Linked DNA regions of Homo sapiens: region 1 is linked to region 2. Evidence: promoter capture Hi-C in human tissues and cell types (Jung and others, 2019). All regions are on one chromosome and are shown on one strand. The core of a region is centred on a gene start or on the middle of the fragment in contact, and the rest is flanking DNA. Distances in the headings are between cores, read along the strand shown. Region 1 has its middle 33 kb from the start of PEMT. Region 2 holds the start of NT5M (5',3'-nucleotidase, mitochondrial).

Region 1 (4,498 bases), core at 1,526-4,025, 320 kb after region 2:
GCAGAGGAGGGACAGGGCATGGTGGGGGAGTATTCAAAGGACAGAGGACAAATGAAGGGAGATGAGGACCAAGCCCACCAGGGCTGGATGGTGCTGGCGTCAATGGGCCGTGCCCAGGAAGGTGGGTTTATTGTTAGGGTCTTTGAGGAGTCAGTGAGGGTTTTTATCAGACATGGTGTGATTTAATTTTGCTTGTTTTTATTGGGGTAAAATACACATAACATGAAATTTGCCATTGTAACCACTTAAAAGTGCACCATTCAGTGTCATTGAGTACCTTCACAATGTCGTGCAACTGCCACCTCTATCTAGCTCCAGAACCACCCCCAAAGGAAACCCCAGACACATTAAGCAGTCACTGGCCACTTCCCCTCCCCCTGCATTGCATCCGTGAATTTGTCTGTTTCTGACATTTCTTTGTTGTTTCTTTTTTTGTTTGTTTGTTTGAGACAGAGTCTTGCTCTGTCAACCAGGCTGGAGTGCAGCGGCGTGATCTCGGCTCACTGCAACCTCTGCCTCCTGGGTTCAAGCGATTCTCATGCCTCAGCCTCCCAAGTAGCTGGGATTACAGGTGCCTGTTACCACATCTGGCTAACTTTTGTATTTTTAGTAGAGACGGGGTTTCACCATGTTGGCCAGGTTGGTCTCGAACTCTTGGCCTTAAGTGATCCGCCTGCCTCGGTCCCCCAAAGTGTTGGGATTACAAGCGTGAGCCACCATGCCTGGCCACTTTTTTTTTTTTTTTTGAGACAGGGTTTTGCTCTGTCACCCAGGCTGGTGTGCAGTGCCACAATCAAGGCTGACTGCAGCCTTAACCTCCTGGGCTCAAGAGATGCCTCCTGGTGGAGCTGGGACCACAGGTGTAGGACACCATGCCCAGCTAATTTTTTTTGTATTTTTGATAGAGTAGGGCTTTGCCATGTTGCCCAGGCTAGTCTCGAGCTCCTGTGCCCAAGCAATCCACCCGCCTCAGCTTCCCAAAGTGCTGGGATTACAGGCATGAGCCACTGTGCCTGGCCTGGACATTTCATGCAAATGAAATCATCCAATCTGTGGCCTTTTGTGTCTGGCTTATTTTGATTTAATTTATTCCCTTTTTATTTATTTATTTATTTATTTGAGACAGAGTCTTACTCTGTCGCCCAGGCTGAAGTGCAATGGCACTATCTTGGCTCACTGCAACCTCTGCCTCCTGGGTTCAAGTGATTCTCCTGCCTCAGCCTCCCGAGTAGCAGGGATTACAGGTGTGTGCCATGACACCCAGCTAATTTTTGTATTTTTAGTAGAGACGGGGTTTCACTTTCGAACTCCTGACCTCAGGTGATTCACCCTCATCGGCTTCCCAAAGTGCTGGGATTACAGGCATGAGCCACAGCGCCCAGCCTTTTTTTTTTTTTTTTTTTTTTGAGACACAGTCTCACTCTGTCGCCCAGGCTGGAGTGCAGTGGTGAGATCTTGCTCACTGCAACCTCCGCCTCTCACGTTCAAGTGATCCTCCTGCCTCAACCTCTGGAGTAGCTGGGATTATAGACACTTGACACCACACCCGGCTAATTTTTGTATTTTTAGTAGAGACAGGGTTTCACCATGTTGAGCAGGCTGGTCTCAAATTCCTGACCTCAGGCCATCTGGCCGCCTGGGCCTCCCAAAGTGTTGGGATTACAGGCATGAGCCACTGTGCTTGGCCTGATTTAATTTCTTAAAGCCTCTCGTAGAGAAGGGCCCGTAGTTGGGCATGGTTAAGGCACCATTAGGTGGGACGTGCTGGGGGGCTAGGCCGTAGGAGCGGGATGGTGAGAAGAGGCGATCTGGAGGGATCATGGAGGCATCGCCCCCAGGATTTGCAGCGACTGGGCCAGGGGGGGATGAGGGATTGCAAGGAGTGGGGAGGACTCGGGTTTCAGGCCTGAGCAAGTGGGACAATGGGGGTGCCAATGTGAGGTGGTGGAGACTGTGAGCGGGGCAGCGCCATGGCAGGGGATCAGTCAAAAGTCCACTCAAGAATTGAGAGTACGGGGGAGGTGCTGCTGCACAAACTTTTAGCACAAGCCAAGCCTGCACCCACTGGAATGTGAGCATCGGAGTGGGTGGTGGGGCAAGTGACAGGCACAGTGCTCATCAAGGATGGTGGGCCATGGGTCATACACCTCCAGGTTCTTTTGGTGGGAACAACAGGTCAATTTCTTCTGCTCAGTAGGATGTATATCAGCAAGAAGATGAGCACACCAGCTCACTCAAAACTTTAAGGAACCAGGCCGGATGCGGTGGCTCACGCCGCCTATAATCCCAGCACTTTGGGAGGCCGAGGTCGGGGGGATCACCTGAGGTCAGGAGTTCGAGACCAGCCTGGCCAACATGATGAAACCCCCATCTCTACTAAAAATACAAAAATTAGCCAGGTGTGGTGGCATGCGCCTATAGTCCCAGCTACTTGGGAAGCTGAATGAATCACTTGAACCTGGAGGCAGAGGTTGCAGTGAGCCGAGATCATGCCACGGCACTCCAGCCTGGGTGGCAGAGCAAGACTCCATCTCCAAAAAAAAAAAAAAAAAAGACAAAACAAAAAACTTTAAGGAACCCATTCACCTGCCTAATTAGTGGAAATGTTTCTAGGGCCACAGGGCCAAAATGCACAGTTGCACAGGTTGGACACTGCACAACCCAAAAGGAGTATATTTATACAGACTTGGACATGACTGACATCTTCCCTGAAGTCAGGCAGTATACAATCTGTGCAGTGGTGCCTGGTGCCGGGCAGTCAGGGTCATCATGAAGTTGCTGTGTTTCTAAGTAAAGGAGCTCCCTTGAGAAGAGATAGGGAAGTTTGTGAGAAATATGTCAGCTTTCGTGGCCTCTGAAGGTCAAGTGAACTCTGGCATTTAAACACAGCGGCCAGAGTCACTACACATCCTGTGTTTTCTTTATGAGAAGAAAAGCTTGGCAAGGGAAATGTCAGCAACAAGGTACACGCAGCTGGTTCGCCGCAAGACGGCCACCCATGTCGTGCTGTCTTCACATATTCCAGGCACTGGGAGGTCTCTCCAGGATTAAGGCCACCACCCTCCCCTCACTGCCGCCTCCCCTGTCATGCACATGGGAAAGGCCTGGCTCCTCTTAGGCCAGGCAGACCACCCTACTTTATTTGGCCTTGGGGCCAGTGGACAGGCCTTCTAGGGCTGCCACCTTGGTCCCCAGGGGCAGTGCACTACACACCAGGCATCGGCAGTGGGCACGACTCCCTCTGGGATTGTGCAAACAGGACCTCTCTCCAGCAGCTCCACGGAGCAGGTCTCAAGAGCCCCGGACCTGGGTTTGAATCTCAGCGGTGCCACTGGCTGGCTGACTGTAGGACTTTGGGCAAGTCACTTTACCTCTCTCAGCCTCTGCTTTTTCCTCTGCTAAGTGGGAACTAGAAGGCTGACCTCTCAGGGCTGCTGGAAGGGACAGAGGGGCATGTATAGAGTCCCTGGCCCATCCTTAGGGAGATGAGGGGAGAAACTTACACCCACTCACATATTCACACACACACACACACACATACACACTCCAAACAAAGTTTCATTTTTTTTCTTTTTTTTTTTGAGATGGAGTTTCCACTCTTGTTGCCCAGGCTGGAGTGCAATGGCGCGATGATCTCAGCTCAGTGCAACCTCCACTTCCCGGGTTCAAGTGATTCTCCTGCCTCAGCCTCCCGAGTAGCTGGGATTACAGGCACTTGCCACAACATCCGGCTAATTTTTTGTATTTTTAGTAGACGGGGTTTCATCATGTTAGCCAGGCTGGTCTCAAACTCCTGACCTCAGGTGATCCACCTGCCTCAGCCTCCCAAAGTGCTGGGATTACAGGTGTGAGCCACTGCACTGGCCCTAATCAGGTTTCAAATCCTTCTCTAAATACCCATCCTAGGCCACCATGTCTCACTGATTCTTTTATTCCTTTTTTTTTTAAGAACAATATCTAAAATGCAAAAAAAAAAAAAGGATATAATAATAAACAGTCATATTTTCATCACCCAGAGAAGTCCAGCCGCCAAGCAGGTGGCCTTTGATGGTGGGAGGCAGTGCCACCCCTGCCCTGCCTCCCTCTTCACTCTGGCTTACCCCATGGTGCTTTTCTGGCGCAGATGAGGAAACAGGGATTTGAGGGCTGCAGGAGGCAGAGGAGCCATCCTCCCGGTTCTCTCAGACAGGACAGGAAGCCTGGAGCACCCAGCTTCACAGAGGCCCCAGCACTTCCGTAGGCCTCGCACCACCTCCCTCACCCGCCTTTGCCAAGCCACCCGCTGTGATGATTTGAAGGCCACTCCGGCAGGGCAGAGAGGCCCTGCAGGTGATCTTGCACTCTGCCTGCATTTCCACCGCCAGAGCCTCAGATCTTTTGTTCTCCCAAATCAATGGCAGCAATGCTGTGGGCTGCCTCAAGTTTCGCCTCTCATCCTGGGATCGGGCGGGGGCTGGGAGTCCTATTGGACAGGGATGCCCCATTCGGGGGATTGCCA
Region 2 (4,592 bases), core at 1,084-3,583:
CAGCCCAGCCGGGAGTGCACACGCTCAGGGCAGCACTGACACGCCAGCCCCCTGCCTCCTTGGCCCCCTCCGGACTTGGGTGCCAACAAGCATCGGAGAACGGCCGAGGGGGGCATGAGGACAGCCTGGTGTTGGCCTGCAGGTACCCCTTGGCATGAACAGCCTGGGCGCCATGAACAGCAGCAGGAATGCAGACAGCTCCTCGGTGGAAGGGGGCGGGTCCCTGGTGAAGCCCCACCTTCAATCCTGGAAGGGCCTGAAGCCTGGGGGCCAGGTCACCAGTCCCAGTACCAGAGCGGGGAACTTGTGGTGCTTTTCCCCAGGCCTGCTCATGGCCACCTATGGCCGCCCATGGACCAATCAGCACTCACTTCTTCCCCTCTGAGGTCCATAAAAAACCCTGGACTCAGCCAGACTCAAAGAGAGGACGGGTAGATGGGGAGAAAACCAGCTGCAGAGAGGAACTACCCTTTCTGCTGAGAGCTGGACACTTGTTGGGATGAACTGCCTACCAGAGAGGAGCTACCCTCTCTGCTGAAAGCTGAACACTTGTGGGGAAACCCTGGCTATGGAGAGGAGCTGCCCACTGCAGGTCTCTTCTGAAGTATTCTGTTGCTCAATAAAGCTCCTCTTCGTCTTGCTCACTCTCCACTTGTCTGCCTACCCCATTCTTCCTGGATGCAGGACAAGAACTCGGGACCTGCCAAATGGTGGGGCTAAAAGAGCTGTAACACAGGCTGGGTGCAGTGGCTCACGCCTTTAATCCCAGCACTTTGGGAGGCCGAGGGGGGTGGGGCGGATCACCTGAGGTCAGGAGTTTGAGGCCAGCCTGGCCAACATGGTGAAACCCTGTCTCTACTAAAAATACAAAAATCGGCCGGGTGCGGTGGCTCACACCTGTAACCCCGGCACTTTGGGAGGCCGAGGCGGGCAGATCACAAGGTCAGGAGTTGGAGATCAGCCTGGCTAACATAGTGAAACCCTGTCTCTACTAAAAATGCAAAAAAGCTGGGTGTGGTGGTGGGCGCCTGTAATCCCAGCCACTTGGGAGGCTGAGGCAGGGGAATCGCTTGAACCTGGGAGGTGGAGGTTGCAGTGAGCCGAGATCCTGCCACTGCACTCCAGCCTGGGCAACAAGAGCAAGACTCCCTATCAAGAAAAAAAAAAAAAAAAGGGAGAGAATGTGGTACATATATACCATAGAATACTTCACAGTCATAAAAAAAGAATAAGATCATGTCTTTTGCAGCCATATGGATGGAGCTGGAGACAATTATCCTAAGCAAACACAGGAACAGAAAATTAAATACCTCATGCTCTCACTTAAAAGCGGGAACTAAACATTAAGTAAACATGGACGTAATGATGGGGACAACAGACACGGTGACCTACTTGAGGGTGGAGAGTGGGAGGAGGGTGAGGATGGAAAAACTACCTATCAGGAACTACGCTTATTACCTGGGTAATAATAATCTGTACACTAAACCCCCAAGACAGTCAATTTATATAACAAATCTGCACATGTATCCCTGTACTTAAAAGTTGAAAAGAGGCCGGGCGCGGTGGCTCACGCCTGTAATCCCAGCACTTTGGGAGGCTGAGGTGGGAGGATCGTTTGAGCCCAACATAGGAAGACTCCTGTCTCAAAAAAAAAAAAAAAAAAAAAAAAATTACCAGGGTGTGGTGGCAGGCCCCTGTGGTCCCAGCTACTCAGGAGGCAGAAGCAGGACGATCCCTTGGGCCCAGAAACTCAAGGCTGCAGGGAACCGAGATCATGCCACTGCTTCCACCCTGGGTAACAGAGCAAGACCCCGTCTCCAAAAAAAAAAAAAAAAAAAAGCAATACAGGGGTACTTAATATTTATTCATATATTTACCTGAGAATCATCAGTTTTACTAAGGCTGTATGATGTTAGCAGATATTGGTTCTATCAGTCTCTCCGCAGACATTTGCTGTAAATAAAGCAGAGAGGCTTTCAGAGTGCACCCTGTTTTTGTTCCTCCATCCTGTTGTCTGGATCCCCTTCTAAAACGTAAGTTCCAGGATGGCAGGAACTTTGTCTATTTGGTTCACACTCGACACAGTTAGTGCTCAAAAATGTCTAACGACACAGGCCTGCTTCTCGGTTTGCACTGCTCCTCCATGGTAGTCTGTGCAGTGGGAGAAGGCAGCCCGGGCCCAGGGTCCACGGAGAAGACGCAAATCGACAGCGCGGGAGCGCGGACCTTCTGGAGGCGCGCGGCGCTTACCGCTGTCCGTCCTCGAAGCCCCGCCCCGGGGCTCCGCCTCCGCCGGCGCGTGTTCCTTTAGGGACCGCGCGCGCCGCGGCCTCGCTCTGGGGCCGGTACTTGCGCGCCCGCACCCCGCGCTCCCCGCCCCGCTCCCCGTCCCGCGCTCCACGCGCGCCCCAGCGTTGGGGGCTTCTCCTCCGCGGCGGGAATGTCTGGCCGGCTCCGGCAGCACGGCGCGGCCCAGGTCCCCGCGCCCACGACGGGCCAGCGCGCTGGGCCATGATCCGGCTGGGCGGCTGGTGTGCGCGGCGGCTCTGCAGCGCGGCGGTTCCCGCGGGGCGGCGCGGGGCGGCGGGCGGGCTGGGCCTGGCGGGAGGCCGCGCCCTACGGGTGCTGGTGGACATGGACGGCGTGCTGGCTGACTTCGAGGGCGGATTCCTCAGGAAGTTCCGCGCGCGCTTTCCCGACCAGCCCTTCATCGCGCTGGAGGACCGGCGCGGCTTCTGGGTGTCGGAGCAGTACGGCCGCCTGCGGCCAGGGCTGAGCGTGAGCGTCCCCGCCCCGCCCCGCGCCGGGCCTCCTTCTCGCCCCGAGCCCCAGACACCGCCCCTGCGCCGGTGACCTTGGACGGTCAGCGCCCCAGCCTCGGGGTGGCCCTCTGATAGAATAGGGTCTGGGGGGGACTAGGGGCCACAGCGCACCGGGAAGATGCGGCCCCGCGCTCAGGATCTGTTGGCTGCCATCCAAGGTTTCTGAAAATGCGGGAGAGTACAAAGTGTTAATATACCTAACTCTGCATTTAAAGCTGACTTCAAAATTTGTGGCATATTTGGCCTCAAGTCGTTTGTTAAATTTTTAGAAAAATAAACGTTATAAGTTGTCCTCTTTCACCCCGACCGCAGTCACATTCCCACTTCTTTGTCCCCAGGACTTTGATGGGTGTCTTTACCCATCTTTTTTACTGTTGTCCATGAAAGCATAGCTTCCAGGGGTATTTGAGGCCCAGAGAGGTTGTGTGACTTTCTGGGGGTCACACAGTGAGTCAGTGGTCCAGGTGAGGTGGGATCCACCTCATGTCTTATCCCCTTGCAGAGCTGGCCTTGCTGAACACCTGAGCTCAACCCCTACCATCCGACTCCCGAGGTGTTCTGTCCAGGATGGATAGAGGGGAAAGATCCAAGGAGGGACGTTTACACACAGATCTTGGTTGGTAAATTTGAAGTATTTTGCAAAAGGAACAGGGGATTTTGGTATGCACAAAATTAAAGAGGCTGAGTGTTTTTTGGCATCCCTTGATTGGCCACCTAGGGTTGCTGCTGGAGGGTTTGATAAAGAGGAGAAGGAAGTTACAAGAGCCCGTTTTTTAGCCACAAGTTCACTGCATCCTCTCTTTTGTTGGGTAGATATTATTATCTCTGTTTTCCAGATGAGGAAACTTGCCCCAAGTCACATGCTGCTCAGGGGCTCAGTCAGGACTCAAACCCAAGTCTGTCTGCCTCCCAAGCACAGTTAGTGCTCCCCACTCCACAGTCCTGTTCTCTGTACTACTGTCTCTAACAAGTGACATTTCTTCTGACATCAGAAAGATGCCTCATCAGTAATGTGGTTTGTTGAGGGACAGGTGTTAAAAAAGGAAACCAAGTACCGTTTGTCTCCATCAACACCAGGCACTTCAGAAGGTGACTTTCACAGAGCCCAGTGTGCTGAGCTCTTCTACAGCGGATGCCTAATGATAAACTTTAAACTGGAGAAAATGCCCTGGTACTTTCTGCAGCCTCAGGAATAGGCTCCAGTGTGTGGCGAGTGTTCATTTATAGGCAGCGCTCGGCATGGGGAGTCTGGACACCATATATCCGCCCGGGAGTGTATTAACGTGGAAACCAAGCCCACCCCCAACTCCGAAAAGTGCAGCAGCTTTTCCAGTTCTTTGTGCAAATATGTAGGCTCTGTACGTGTGGGGTTACTGGTTTCCAAGCACAAGGCAAAGGCACGGGGCAGTAAGGAGGGTGCCTTGGGAGTAATCTGCTGGCTTCCACTACTTCCCTTCCTGAGGCACGGCTTGCTGCTGTGGACATCCCTGGGCCTACCCCAAGCTGGCCCAGTATCTGTGGTTAAAACAACCGCCCCCCCCCCCCCGCCCCCACACACGTGGCTCCTTATGTGTATGTAGGCATTTCTACTTTTCAAAATTCTGCTCTGTCTGTATTCCCTTTGGTCTTCACAGTACCCTATGTGGGATGTGAGGATCAAATGTGTTTCAGTAATAAGCACGCATTTGCCTAGTCCCTGTGGTTCCTGAGAGTGTTGCTGGTATGCTGTCAGGGCATCCTCCGGCCGTCCATGTGACAGGGTGGCTGTCT

What was found. The method cuts DNA at HindIII sites, captures the fragments that hold promoters and counts their contacts. A contact is called where the count stands out against the background at its distance.
Region 1: a contact is called between a fragment that was not itself captured here and the fragment with the promoter of NT5M in region 2, in 2 of the 25 tissues and cell types used here (bladder and dorsolateral prefrontal cortex).

The regions. Positions count from the first base shown.
Region 1 is chr17:17,622,012-17,626,509 of GRCh38, forward strand. No RefSeq gene overlaps it. Among named protein-coding and RNA genes, the nearest start is that of PEMT, 33 kb to the left of the region's middle. RefSeq lists enhancers at 1-695, 696-1,571, 3,708-4,498. The HindIII fragment of the contact is 8,811 bases long and covers 1-4,498 here.
Region 2 is chr17:17,301,040-17,305,631 of GRCh38, forward strand. It overlaps NT5M (5',3'-nucleotidase, mitochondrial), which reads left to right and starts at 2,334. Exons shown (of 5, transcript NM_020201.4): 1 at 2,334-2,778. The coding sequence starts at 2,512. RefSeq lists an enhancer at 1-290 and silencers at 2,264-2,433, 2,484-2,583, 2,714-2,903. The HindIII fragment of the contact is 23,347 bases long and covers 1-4,592 here.